Linked DNA regions of Homo sapiens: all the other regions are linked to region 1. Evidence: promoter capture Hi-C in 16 types of primary human blood cells and fetal thymus (Javierre and others, 2016). All regions are on one chromosome and are shown on one strand. The core of a region is centred on a gene start or on the middle of the fragment in contact, and the rest is flanking DNA. Distances in the headings are between cores, read along the strand shown. Region 1 holds the start of NSMCE2 (NSE2 SUMO ligase component of SMC5/6 complex). Region 2 overlaps TATDN1 (TatD DNase domain containing 1). Region 3 overlaps LINC02964 (long intergenic non-protein coding RNA 2964). Region 4 overlaps LINC02964 (long intergenic non-protein coding RNA 2964). Region 5 overlaps LINC02964 (long intergenic non-protein coding RNA 2964).

What was found. Contacts are between HindIII fragments. The CHiCAGO score rates a contact against its expected background, and 5 or more counts as called.
Region 2: a contact is called between a fragment that was not itself captured here and the fragment with the promoter of NSMCE2 in region 1, in 4 of 17 cell types (naive B cells, erythroblasts, total B cells and 1 more). The highest score is 6.6, in naive B cells.
Region 3: a fragment that was not itself captured here is called in contact with the fragment with the promoter of NSMCE2 in region 1 in 12 of 17 cell types (neutrophils, monocytes, M0 macrophages and 9 more); the score reaches 27.5 in neutrophils.
Region 4: a contact is called between a fragment that was not itself captured here and the fragment with the promoter of NSMCE2 in region 1, in 7 of 17 cell types (neutrophils, total B cells, M0 macrophages and 4 more). The highest score is 13.2, in neutrophils.
Region 5: a fragment that was not itself captured here is called in contact with the fragment with the promoter of NSMCE2 in region 1 in 4 of 17 cell types (neutrophils, naive B cells, M1 macrophages and 1 more); the score reaches 12.1 in neutrophils.

Annotation. Positions count from the first base shown.
Region 1 is chr8:125,090,542-125,093,198 of GRCh38, reverse strand. NSMCE2 (NSE2 SUMO ligase component of SMC5/6 complex) reads right to left here and starts at 1,339. Exons shown (of 8, transcript NM_173685.4): 1 at 1,241-1,339. It overlaps WASHC5 (WASH complex subunit 5), which reads left to right and starts at 1,407. Exons shown (of 29, transcript NM_014846.4): 1 at 1,407-1,584. RefSeq lists an enhancer at 1,248-1,467 and a silencer at 1,518-1,687. The HindIII fragment of the contact is 6,790 bases long and covers 1-2,657 here.
Region 2 is chr8:124,509,000-124,511,656 of GRCh38, reverse strand. All of the region lies in intron 6 of TATDN1 (TatD DNase domain containing 1), which reads left to right. Among named protein-coding and RNA genes, the nearest start is that of MIR6844, 1.8 kb to the right of the region's middle. The HindIII fragment of the contact is 1,769 bases long and covers 477-2,245 here.
Region 3 is chr8:125,644,807-125,647,463 of GRCh38, reverse strand. All of the region lies in intron 5 of LINC02964 (long intergenic non-protein coding RNA 2964), which reads right to left. Among named protein-coding and RNA genes, the nearest start is that of LINC02964, 130 kb to the right of the region's middle. The HindIII fragment of the contact is 7,706 bases long and covers 1-2,657 here.
Region 4 is chr8:125,621,202-125,623,858 of GRCh38, reverse strand. It overlaps LINC02964 (long intergenic non-protein coding RNA 2964), which reads right to left. Exons shown (of 7, transcript XR_001746072.2): 5 at 285-1,035. Among named protein-coding and RNA genes, the nearest start is that of LINC02964, 100 kb to the right of the region's middle. The HindIII fragment of the contact is 2,227 bases long and covers 185-2,411 here.
Region 5 is chr8:125,603,731-125,606,387 of GRCh38, reverse strand. The region is part of intron 2 of LINC02964 (long intergenic non-protein coding RNA 2964); the gene reads right to left. Among named protein-coding and RNA genes, the nearest start is that of LINC02964, 85 kb to the right of the region's middle. RefSeq lists enhancers at 241-290, 1,163-1,342. The HindIII fragment of the contact is 1,426 bases long and covers 601-2,026 here.

The sequences.
Region 1 (2,657 bases), core at 90-2,589:
ATGTGAGGACACAGCAAGAAGCCACCTATGAACCAGGAAACAGGCCCCGGAACTGTGAGAAATAAATTTCTGTTGTTCATAAGCTACCTAGTTTATGGCATTTCCGTTACAGAAGCCCACATTGACTAAGATACCATCTTTCATGGCTTGGTTTAAGTGGTTCTCAACCAAGAAGGATTTTACCCCTCTCGCAAGGGGACATTTAGCAGTATCTGTAGACTTTGTGGTTGGCATCTAGCGGGCAGAGGCCAGGGATGCTCTTAAGCATCCTACAAAACACAGGACAGCCCTCACCCTGACCCCACAGCAAAAAATTATCTGGCCTAAAATGTCAATAGTGCATCAGTTGAGAATAACTGGTTTAAATCAATCTCTCTTGGATCCCTCCCCAGGTAATAACACTGATCTTTTTCTTCCCGGTACCTATGATCTCCAAGAAAGTTTAGAACAAGTTGTGCATTTCCTGAGTTTTTTCTCTGCATGTTATTTATAGACAATATGTTGACTTCCTTTAAATCCATGGGAGCCTTGTACAAGTCAGCCAGAGCTGCCTCTCCTTTTTCAACATGCAAGGATAATCCCTTCTCTCTGAATCCTTCTCATACAATTGCTTTTCCCTCCCTCATGCTACCATTATCCCTATCACATGCACATGTACACAACACACTCCTATTATGAAACTCATCACAACTATTTGCTCACATGTCTGCAGCTTCTTTAAACTGACACCTCCTTAAACTAGAACCCTGACATATTCTATTGCATATAAAGCAATTCCTCACACAAAATAGGGGACCAATAAAGATTTGGCCAGTTACAAAAATAACAACAGACATCATCATTTCTCGGTCACCTACAGAATGCCATAAACTGGTGTCCCGGCACTTTATTCTCCTTATCGCTAATTCTCACTGCAATCTACATAACTGAAGAGGAAATTGAGGTCCAGAGAGTTTATTCAAACGACCTTCCCGTGGCCTTACTTTTAAAGTCAGTTCAAACAAAATCTATTTGGATCAAAAATTCGTAATCTTGCCCCTACACACTTGAGGCGAAAGGATGGAGAGATGGCGTCTCGGACAGGAGGGTAAACTGTCCCAGACTCACTACCGTGGCGTGAAAAGTTCCACAACCATAATCCGGGTAGACGGACCCCCGGCTCGGAGTCCCCGTGGAGTGTCCCTGAGGGTGGCGAAACTCCTGCCACCCTCCCCATTGCCGTCCCCCGCTTCTTCCCTACCTGGTAGTCCAAGCTGTCTCCGTCTGGTGGCACCCCAATTTCCCCTGCCTAGACCCACCTCCTTTCCTCAGCCCCCTTCGCCTGCCGCTGAAAAGTGAGAGCGGGCTCTTGCGTCATCAGCCGTCGCCGGCGAGTGGTCACATGATGCCCCTCCCTGCTCCCAGCCGCTTCGGTCATGTGACCGCCTGGGGAGTCAGGGGCGGAAGTCGGGGTCTGACCCGCTCCAGGTCCGGGACTGCGGATAGAAGAGGACCGCCGCCTTGAGGGAGGGGTGGAAACTGGGTGCCGGCTCCGCGCGCGACCTCCGGCCCTGCGCGTGCGCCGTGGCGCGGCCCGGCTGACAGGTGAGTGGGGATGGAGTGAGCGCGCCCCATTTTTGCATGGCCCCCTTCCCCTCCCCGCTGGGCCGCGCTGGCCACGGGGAGGTCTGCAGAGTCGCGTGCAGCCTGGATGGGGGACTCGGGATGGAGGGCTTAGGGGCTTTCTGGGGCGGGGGCTGTAATCCAGCTCTTCGTCTCCGCTTAGGGGGAAATCATTTTGCACACCCCTTCCTCGCTTTAGGAAGCACCGTTCAGCTGCTTGGTCCGAATCTCATCCTTCCAAGTTTCCGGGAACACTGCTGTATGGATGTCGTCGTTATTTCTCTTTGCTTTTGAGAAAACTGAAAGGCTAGTAGTGAGGACTTTTACAGGCTGACAGACGTGGATTTGCATTCTAGTTATGCCATGGGCTGTGAGTTTGGGCAAGTCATTGCTGCTCGCCGCGCCTTAATGCCTTCACCTGTGACATACTGATGTCAAAATCCTTTGCATTTGGGGGAAAAAAAAAAAGTTCCCAGGGCCCTGATTCCTGGGATCGGAATCAGGATTATGATCGGACAGGAGAAAGAAAAAAAGTCACAGAGCCATAAAACTGGGTCTCCTGATTGCAAGCGCATGGAGCTCCCTCAAACATAGGTGAGGCGTAGTGAGGGCGAAGTTTTACTGTCTTTGTGCACTACAAGGGACACCTTCTCTAATTGTCCTTCACCTGCCTTTCCCAGGATTTCAGGTTCAGCCTCATTTCAGAACTTTTCTGGAAAATATATGCAGCTTGCATTTATCTTGATCAGCAACCGTTATATTTTGTTTGTGATAATGGATTTGTGGAGACCAGTGCTTCCTTTATGGAACTGAGGTTTTGCGAAAGGCTAAAAATAGACCTGCCTTCTTTTGTCCTCTGAAGAGGGTAAACTGTTTGTCCACGACAATTCGATTTCCTTAAGAAATATTATTCTGTACTCAGGGTAATTGGTGTAAGGATGTCATGCCTTATTCTTGAAAGCATGTCTTTTGATTAGGATTACTTCCCAAACTGAAAATCACAGTTCCACGCCAAATTATTAAAAATGAAGTTACCGGCACTTGTAAAAGAAAAT
Region 2 (2,657 bases), core at 112-2,611, 580 kb after region 1:
TAAGAAAGAGAAGCAAAGAGTGAAAACAAGGAAAGGCCTGATCTACTTATGGAAAGTTTATCCTTTAAGCCATACCCTGTATTTTCAATTTCCTGGCCTTATGCTACACTCCTTTCCTTGTTGCAATTTAGAGCTCTGTTCTCTTGGGTAGGAGGAATTTGCTTTGGGCATTTTTCTTGGGGCTTTAAAATGTTAACACTGTGCAGGTCTTAAAAACTACAACAAGAAGATTTTAAAACAATCCTTTGGGGATTTAGGGGACCCTAGAGATGAGCAATTGAGGCCATGTTGCCATCAAGCAGCTTACAGAGGAGGGATTACTACTTGTGTTGAGGTATACCCATGAAACTCACTGGGCTTTTTGGATTTGCCTTGATCCTAATTAATAACAACTGCTCCTGAAGCTGAACTTTTCCAGCTCTTGTCGTTAGATAGTTAAACCTCAACTGTAAGAAGCAGTAATAAAATCAGAAGCTTCACTAAGATGAGCAAATAACTCAAGTGGAAAATTATTTTCATTTATGAACTTTAAAAAAATAATAAGTGAGTAAAACAGGCAGAGAAGTCTCTTAATAGATGCCAATTCCTACCCTGTAACTTATACAGTTATTTCTAGTTACCATGGCGGGTTTTTCTTCTCTAAAGATAATAGTCGTTTGATGTTCAGTACTAGTTATCCTCAATTTGTATCATTAGGAATAATTTTTTTTACCACATGGCTTCTTTATGATACGTAGCTAGCATGACTTCAGGGACCTTTCTTTTCTTGAATTATGTAAAATTCTGTGGGCCCATTGCTTGGGCTTCTGTTATTTTCTTTTTCTTTTTTCTTTGAGACAGGGTCTCACTCTGTCATCCAAGCTGGAGTGCAGTGGTGTGATCATGGCTCACCGCAGCCTTGACCTCGCCAGGCTCAAGCAATCCTCCCACCTCAGCCTCCCAAGAACTGAGACTGTAGGCATATGCTACCACACCTGGCTAATTCTTGTATTTTTTGTAGAGATGGGGTTTCACCATGTTGCCCAGGTTGGTCTCGAACTCCTGAGCTCAAGCAATCCACCCACCTCAGCCTCCCAAAGTGCTGGGATTACAGGCCTGAACCACACACCCAGCTGGCCTCTGTTATTTTCATAAACTGTACTTTTGCCTACATTCCTATAGGAAGCTAATTTTCCATCCGACCATTAGATACTGTGAATTTGTAGCTTGGTCATGTGGTTTGGTCCATGGAATTGTGTGTGGAAAAAATAACCAGTACAGCGTGGAGCAGTGCACACAATGAAGAGTACCGCCTGCTGTGTGTAGTCAGAGCCAAATATATTAGTAAAGTTGACATAATGACTAGTGCACACTTAACTGCTGACATTTGGTTTACTTTAGAGGTTATGGAAATAGTGACTGGTTATATTATCAAAATCTCTTTTTGTCCAAGTTGTCGTTAATATTTCCTACACTGCAAAATTTCAGCACTTTGTTAATGAAAGGAAAATATTTTTGCTTATTCTAACCCAGCAGAATCTGAAAAGGAGATTTTAAAACCCAAACATTTGGTAATACAGACATAGACGACCTATTTTAGGAAGACTATTTCTATTTTTTTAATTTTTAATTTTTTTTTTTTTTTTTGAGACAGAATGTTGCTCTCTCACCCAGGCTGGAGTGCAGTGGTACAATCTCAGCTCACTGCAACCTCTGACCCTGGGTTCAAGAGATTCTCATGCCTGCCGAATAGCTGGGATTACAGGCATGTGCCAACATGCCGGCTAATTTTTGTATATTTAGTAGAGACGAGGTTTCACCATGCTGGCCAGGCTGGTCTTGAACTCCTGCCCTTGAGTGATCCACCCGCCTTGGCCTCCCAAAGTGCTGGCATTACAGGTGTGAGCCACCACGCCCGGCCTGAAGACTGCTTCTTAAGAAGTACATTTCTATTTCTAATTTTAAAATTTAGCATTTTCAAGAGAGCAAAGGGGGTAAAATAGTCCTGCACATCAGGAAATATGATATAGAAAAATATAGCAAGAGAGGCTTAAGTTAAACAGAGAAATTGTTTCCCCAAATTAAAGTGCTTAGAAGAGGTAAGCACATTTAAGAAAATAATAAGCCACCTGTTATCCTGATTCAGTTGAACCTACCATTTGTGAGAACAAGGGGGAGCACTGTGTTGAAGTGAAAAGACAAACAGAATGAACATTCGTTGTATCCTCTGAATATTGTCATTATACTCCGGGACCAGAAGGAAGCTTCTTGAAAACGTAACAGGTTTTTGTCGTTTAGGCTGGGACTTGGAATTAGAGCAGTGAAGTTCTGTTCCAAGTTGGCCATGCCAGGTATTGTTATCTTGGACAAAGTACTACACCTCTCTGACACCAGCTTTTATACTCAGGTTATTTTGAGGATCAAATGAGACAATGGTATCTGGTACTTGGAAAAACCTTCTTATCAAGTACTCTTTAAGATATTCAGGGCTACCACTTTATCATGTAATTTTCTTTTTTTAATAGCATAATTGAGTTATTTGCTGTTTAGCAAATACTTAGATTTCATTTTTGAGGGAAACCTTGTTCATTTTGCCCAGTGGCAATAACTTCTTTTATAACAGCACATAAAAAACTGGTTGCAAAATGGAATAGATTAGCATGCAGTATGAAGCTCTC
Region 3 (2,657 bases), core at 55-2,554, 550 kb before region 1:
CTGAGGCAGGAGAATGGCGTGAACCCGGGAGGCAGAGCTTGCAGTGAGTCGAGATCGCGCCACTGCACTCCAGCTTGGGAGACAGCGAGACTCGGTCTCAAAAAAAAAAAAAAGAAAGAAAGAAAGAAAAAAAGAAAAGAAAGAGAGAGAGAGAGAGAGAAAGAAGAAAGAAAGAAAGAAAGAAAGAAAGAAAGAAAGAAAGAAAGAAAGAAAGAAAGAAAGAAAGAAAGAAAGAAAGAAAAAAGAAATCAAAAGGCTGATCAGCATCTTTCTCCTAGGGCAGACCAGAAGAGAGAATGATCTGCCCCATCTCTCCTCCCTCCACCTTGCTGGCCAAGGTTTCCCCTGCTCTGACATGAAGGGGCAGAGCACCTTGCCATCCAACTGGTGACAGGGTACTTCTCCATCCCCACATCCTTTCCCACAGTGGTTGTCTCAAAAGGGCAGTCTGTGGTTGCAAAGGCAGCAACGAAGGGGCCTGGAGCTCCTGGAGGCCTGGAAGAGGTCTCTCATTGCTGTTTTCTCATTATTGTTGCTGGTGTTGGTTTTGCTCTTTACATCTTTGTGCCCTCGGCATCCTTCTAGTGACTGACACAATCCAATCCTGAGATTGTCACTCAGTACCACACCCTGCCCAGAAAGGTCTGAATTACCATCTTCAGGCTGCGTTATGGGGAATGGTAATAGTCATTATACGATAATTTTATATTTGGGAAATGAAAACAATCCCTTTTGTTTTCTGCTGTAAGTTAAAGAAGGTAAAATTTTCACACATGCAAAAGCAGTCTTCTTGGTTAATGAGGATATTTAGGAAGAACCAAGAGAGCTGAGCATGTACTGAGGAAACACCTCCACATGGTGCCATCTTCAATGGCAGAGATGGTCACGAGATGGGCGCTCCCCTCTCTGGGCTGCCGTCAATTTCCCTCTGGTTCTGGCAGAGAATTCCCTAAATGGCTGCAAGGTTGCCCACGCTTGATCTTCTGGTTTTGGACACCCTCCTACAGTTGTTAAGCTCTAATTTCATGAACCAACTACACTAGAAAGAGAAACTACCCATCTACCCAAAAATGAGAATGAGAGTAAGATACCTGGGAATGTAAAAGAAATGCAACTTAGTAGCTAATGCAAGAAATGGAAACAAATACATTTCCTGCCTTGCAGGTCAAAACACAGAGACGTATTTCCTCAAACCTTGACAACTATCTCCCAGGTGAAGAGAACAGGAAATTAAGGTTTTTACAGCTTTGGCAGCATTCACACTCCAGTGCCCTTTGCTGTAAAGCCTCCCTGCCCTGCAGAGGCAGAAGAGTTTGTTCTTATCCCTTGCCTCCTTGCCCCTGACCCATGCTCCCATCCTATTTGATCAGGTACACCATATACAGTCGCACAGTCAGTGCACTGCACAAGTCAGGAGGTGCCATTTCCACCAGCTGTATTGTGACTGGGCTCCCTGGAGTTGTACGGTGCTTCCATCAGGGTGTGTTCTGTGGCTTGCCTTGTATCACAACTGACACCTGCAAGGCCATGGACTCCTAACTGACCTATAGTCACTGGCAGTGTCCCTGGCACGTAGCACAGTGCCTGGTACCTAGATAAACCTTAACATAAACTCCTAGGGATTTAAGAAGCAATTAATTGGACAAGAGAATCAGCACCACTCTAAGACAAGAAATAAGTAGTTATTTTAGGCCGGGCACAGTGGCTCACGCCTGTAATCCCAGCACTTGGGAGGCTGAGGTGGGAGGATCACCGGAGGTCGGGAGTTCAAGAGCAGCCTGGGCAACATGGTGAAACCCTGTCTCTACTAAAAATACAAAAATTAGCCAGGTGTGGTGGCACATGCTATAATCCCAGCTACTCGGGAGGCTGAGGCAGGAGAATCGCTTGAACCCAGGAGGCAGAGGTTGAGCCAAGATCCACTGCACTCCAGCCTGGGCGACAGAGCAAGACTCTGTCTCAAAAAAAAAAAAAAAAAAAAAAAAAAAAAAAAAAGTCGTTATTTTAAATAGGAGCAAAATTCTTTTAGAGTATGGATACTTCTTGAATTAACCTTAGATACTTTAAAGAGTAAATATAACATAACAGTTAAGATCTCTGGCCCTGGAGTCAGAAGGATCTGGGTTTTAATCCCAGCTTTACAACTAATTGAGCCATACTGGGCATGTTCCTAGACCTCCCTAAGCCTTAGTGTCCTCATCTGTGAGGGTAACTGAGATAAAGCCTTAGCATGGTGCCTGGCACACAGTCACACTCAATGCATCTTAGTTGTAATTATGAAGTACATTGGAGGTGTCAATTAATCCAGGCAATAACATGAAAAGAAAATGTTAGCTATCCATATTTATATCCCACAAAGAGGAATATGCTCAAGATCTATTAAGCGCCCAATTAATGTTTGCTGAGTGAATAAATGAGAGAGAAGAGGAGGAGGAGGAAGGAAGGTGGGGGAGGAGGAGAAGGGAAGGAGGAAGAAGAAGAAGAAAGAAAGATGAAAGGGAGAGTGAGGAGAAGGGGTACTGAACTAGGAGTCAGGAGGGATACAGCTTCAAATATGCCATCACTAACTTTGTGACTTGAAGTAAGTTCCTTTCTTGGTCTCAATTTGCTCCTTTTAAAGATGAAAAGTGACTGGATGATGCCTCAGGTTCTTCCTT
Region 4 (2,657 bases), core at 49-2,548, 530 kb before region 1:
AGCATACACCCTGTTTATAAAAGTGCAAAGAAAATGTGCAGATCATGTATCAGTGAAGAGGTAAATTTGGCCACAAGTAACAGAAACCACTATGGAGTTCTTCAGCAAGGAGCCCAAAGGGAAGTTTGTGCCTGCCTGACGTCACTAAGCAGTGTCAGGCTGGTGCCCGCAATTCTCTTAAGCTTTCCCTCATGCTCATAAGGTATATGCCACAGCTACAACCATCAGGTCCACATTCCAGTAGGAAGAAGGAGAAAGGGGATAGACAGCCCCAGCAGACTTACACTTGCATCTCGCTGGTCAAGTATCATGGCCACTCCTAGCTGCAAGGAAGTCTGGGAAAGCGAGCTTTGAGTCTTCCACGTTCTAGAGCAGAGAAAGCACGGCTTGACGGGAAATGGAATGGGCGCTGAGTGAACCAACCTACAGTAGCTGCCACAAGGAAGCTCTCAGAAAGAAGGAAAGCTGAACAGCCAGATGGCAGGAACAAATGGGCAGCTATCTTCAGAGTGCTGCTAGCTGGATTAATCCGCTCTAGCCATTTTCAGATTAGGGGGTCATCATTTACTTTCCTATAGTCTAATTTTCCAATATGAGTCAAACATTCACCCCTTTGCCAGATGAGTGCTGGGATTTGGACTCGCAAACCTTCCAGTTGGCATGTGAACTGGGAAGGGGAAATCCCAATATGAAATGAAGAAGATGGGCAGATGAAAAACAAGGTAGTCCTTACACCTCCCTTGTAAGGACACGAGCGCCTCTGAGACAGAATCCCTGACATTCTCATCTGTGAATCTGCCTCTGTACCAGCAAAATGATGTGTTCCACATCTTCACTATGACTTGAGTGAGTGAGCGCATTCTTTAGCCTGTAGGCTGAGGTTGTTTCATCTGTTTTGATTTGTTTCATTAGGTTTTCATCCTCATAGAGAGGTTGGGTCTTGAAGCTGGACAGACCAGTGTTGGAATTCCAGCTCTACTTTGCCCCCTCGGTGTGGCTGTGGACAGCATTGTTTCCATGCCTCGATTTTCTTATCTGCAAAAGAGAAGAATTAAACCAATCTCATGAAGTTGCTGTAAGCATGGAACAATAATGTATGTGTAAAGCATGCACCTAGGGCCTGACACAGAGAAGACACTCCATCACCAGGAATCTGTTATTATTTTTATGCGAGAATTTTAAGCAGTAAGAGTGCAACAGGCCGGGCGTGGTGGCTCATGCCTGTAATCCCAGCACTTTGGGAGGCCAAGAAGGATGGATCACGAGGTCCGGAGTTCAAGACCAGCCTGGCCAACATGGTGAAACCCTGTCTCTACTAAAAATACAAAAATTACCTGGGTGCAGTGGCAGGTGCCTGTAATCCCAGCTACTCAGTTGGCTAAGGCAGGAGAATCTCTTGAACCCAGGACAGTGGAGGTTTCAGTGAGCCAAGGTCGTGCCACTGCACTCCAGCCCGGGCAACAGAGTGGGACTCCGTCTCAAAAAAATAATAATAGGCTGAACGCAGTGGCTGACGCCTGTAGTCCCAGCACTTTGGAAGGCCGAGGCAGGCGGATCACGAGGTCAGGAGATCGACACCATCCTGGCTAACATGGTGAAACCCTGTCTCTACTAAAAATCAAAAAATGAGACGGGCGTGGTGGCGGGCGCCTGTAGTCCCAGCTACTGGGGAGGCCGAGGCAGGAGAATGGCGTGGATCCAGGAGATGGAGCTTGCAGTGAGCCGAGATCGTGTCACTGCACTCCAGCCTGGGTGACAGAGCGAGACTCCACCTCAAAAAACAATAATAATAATAATAAAGAGTGCAACAAACACCTCCCTACCTCCGACTCTTCAATAACTCCTCTCTGGATTTTCACAGGTTGGAGGTTTGCTATTTGAGAAGAGAACAAAGTTCTAATCTTTCTAGTTCACCCTAAAAATAGTTAGTTCTTCTCTGTACATTCTGTCAGCTCAGCAAGTCCCATCTAGAGAACTGGGAGATTGTGAAAGGCAATCTTTCTAAACAGGGGTCAAATGTTCTTTACCCGAGAGGAACTCACAGAGGATACACATGAAGTTAGAGAGTTGGCCCAATAGCATGGGGGTCTTCCCACCCAGGCCAGGATCTTGTGTCTAGAACCTCAAGAATAAGCGAAACCAGTGCATTGAGCTTCCTAGAGAAAAGGGATATTTCTCTCATACTGATTTATTGAACCACTCAAGTCATCTGAAAGGCATCTATTGAAAGCTACCAGCTCACAAACTGGCATGTGCAGAAGATGCAGAAATAACTAAGTGTGCCTACCCTTAGAGTTCTCATGGTTAACTACTTGCTGAAATCCTCCTGTATTCCAGAATAGTAGTAATAATGATAATAATAACTAACATTTAATGACCACTTACTAGGTGTCATCCACAGTTCTAAAGCTTTATATACATCATTCACTTATAATTCTTACCTTAACCTCAGAAATTAAGTCCTTTGTCTCCCTTCTGCTGATTTAAAAAAAAAAAAGAATGAGGTACCAAAAGTTAAATGACTTACCTGGGCTGTTTAGAAACTCTCTACCTAGAAAGATTTCCATTACCGTCAGATGTTAGGAGAGGATCTAACATAGGAAAGGTCACCAGTTGTCACAGAAAAAGCCAAAGAACTTAGGTCTAGTGCCCCTTTG
Region 5 (2,657 bases), core at 64-2,563, 510 kb before region 1:
AGGCAGGGGGAGAATGAACCAGGAAGTGGAAAGAGCACGTGCAAAGTCCCAGAGGTGCCAAACAGCCTGGGCTGCAAGAAAAACAGAAAGTTGAGTGAGGCTGATGTGCAGAATGTGGGCAGGTGATCAGTGGAGGCTAAAGATGGCCTGACATCAGGGCTGGATGCCATTGGTCTATGTGGACCCTGATACAGATATTAGATTTCTGCCGGTGTCAAAGAGAAGTGGGTCGGGGAAGCCTGAGACTCTGATATAACATCACGTGACAGATAACAGTCCCTAAAGGAAATGAAAGTATTTTACCTCCAAATATATTTCTTGGACATATTTTGAAATGACCCTGCAAAGCCACCCGTTGTGGGGAAAATTTACATTCTGCAGAGAATCTTCTTCCCTTTCTAAGTCTTTTCCTGATCCAGGAGAGATTTAACTAAAAGTCTGACAGCTTTTAAGGTCTGATAAAAGACATTTACCATCTGTTCTCTCTGAAGTCTGCTACCTGGAGGCTTCGTCTACATAAGAAGAAACCTGGCCTCCACAACCCCCGTTATCTTAACCCCAAGCATTTCTTCTGCTGACTCAAACTCTTTAGGCAAAGCTTAACACTTTCAACCAATTGCCAATCAGGAAATCTTTGAATCCGCCTGTGACCTGAAAGCACCCACTTCAAGATGACCTGCCTTTCTTGGCCAAGCTAACATATAACTCACACGTATTGATTTATGTTTTCCCTGTAGCTTCTGTCTCCCTAAAATGTATAAAGTCAAAGTATAACCCAAACATCTTGGGCACATGTTCTCAGGACCTTCTGAGGCTGTGTCACGGGCCATGGTCCTCACACTTGGCTCAGAATAAACTTCTTCAAGTATTTCAGAGTTTGGCTTTTTTCATCAACAGTATGAACCCTGTGCCCCCCAAATTTATCTGCTGAAGCCCTAACCTCCAACATGATGATATTAGGAGGTGAGGCCTGTGGGGAGTAATTAGGTTTAGAGGAGGTCCTGAGGCTACAGTCTCAGTGATGGGATTGGTGCCCTTAGAAGAAGAGAAAGAGACAAAAAATCTCTCACTCCACCAGGTGAGGACACAGCAAGAAGGCAGCCATCCACAAGCCAGGAAGAGAGCTCTCACCAGGAGCCAAATCTGCTGACACCTTGATCTTGGACCTCCGAGCCTCCAGAACAGCGAGATAATAAATGTCTGCTGTTTAAGACCCCAGTCCGTGGTATTTTATTATGGCAGCCTGAGTCGACTAAGATGACCTCAAGTTAAATCTAAAACTTTGCCTCAGATGTCAACACCCAGGAAGCTACCATTTCTCCTTGAAACAATACATATGCAAAGAATATGCAAAGAAAACACACTCACAAAAGAAATAATCTCCAATGATAAGGGAAGCCAACTGAAGACTCTTTAAAGTGACAGACCCAAAAATATTTGTTACTGGTTAACTTTCATTTCCTCAGGCCCTATCAGTGCAGCGGGGACACATAACAGAAACTAAGGGAGGTCTGTGGCTTGCCCACCCCTGCCAAGATATACTGAAACCTCAGCTCTTCCTTTCCGATCCAAGAGGTCTTGGAGAGTCTCCCATGCACAAGACAGTTCTTCTTAATTCTCTGATGCCCATTCGCCTTCCCTGGGCCACTCAACTTGTGCTTCCTGTCATTTCCCCGGGGCGCTGCCATCATTCTCTAAGGCTGCTCATCCTGCCAACATTTCTGAGGCTCATGCCTCCTGGCCACGGATACAGACCTGTTTCCTAGCTGCTCTTTCTTCCACACTGTAAGTCATCTGGTATTAGAAATGCTTTGATGCAGTCATGGAGCTGAGTGAACACACTGTCTTAGACCCATGCAAACTTTCAGACACAGCTCCTTCATTCCCCAACAAATTTATTCTGAGTGCTTACCCAGTGCCAGGCACTGGGGAGGCAGGGATGAAGGAAATCCAGTTCCAGCTCTCAAAGGGAGGCTAGACTCATGGAGAAGAAGGCTCTTATGTTGGGCTCTCCCTCTGAAAAGCTTCTTAAAGCCTGTCCTACCAGGCATTGGCACAAGGAGGATGTCAGCAAGTGAAGATCGGCAGGACAGCATTCTAAGAAGAAAGCAAATGCAGGGTATGGACTTTCAGCCTGGGCTGCCACAAGGGCAAATCTCCTGCTGTAGTGACCTAGTATCACCCTCCACCTTGAGTTGAGAGACAGCGACAATAACAGCAGGAGTAATTGTAACGAGAAATGGCTAGCATCACAGAGCCCTTACAATATTCTCCACCAGCTCTGTCTAGGAGAATTATCTGTGATGATGGAAACGTTCTATATCTGTGCTGTCCAATTTAGAAGCCACTGAGAACTTGAAATGCAGCTGGTGCAATGGAAGAATCTCAATTTTAATTTTAGTTCATTTTGGTTATTTTAAATAGTCACCTGTGACTAGTGGCCACCATATCAGACAGCACAAGACAAGATATTGTGCTAAGCACTTTATGGGCAATATATTAATTTTAACAATAAGCAATGAGATAAGCACGATTTTTGTCTCCATTTCACAGATGTAGAAACTGAGTCCCAGAGAGGTTAAATAATTTGTCCAGGTCACTCATTTAGTAAGGGTAGAGCCAAGACTTAAACCCCAGCGATCTCTCCCCAGAAAGAA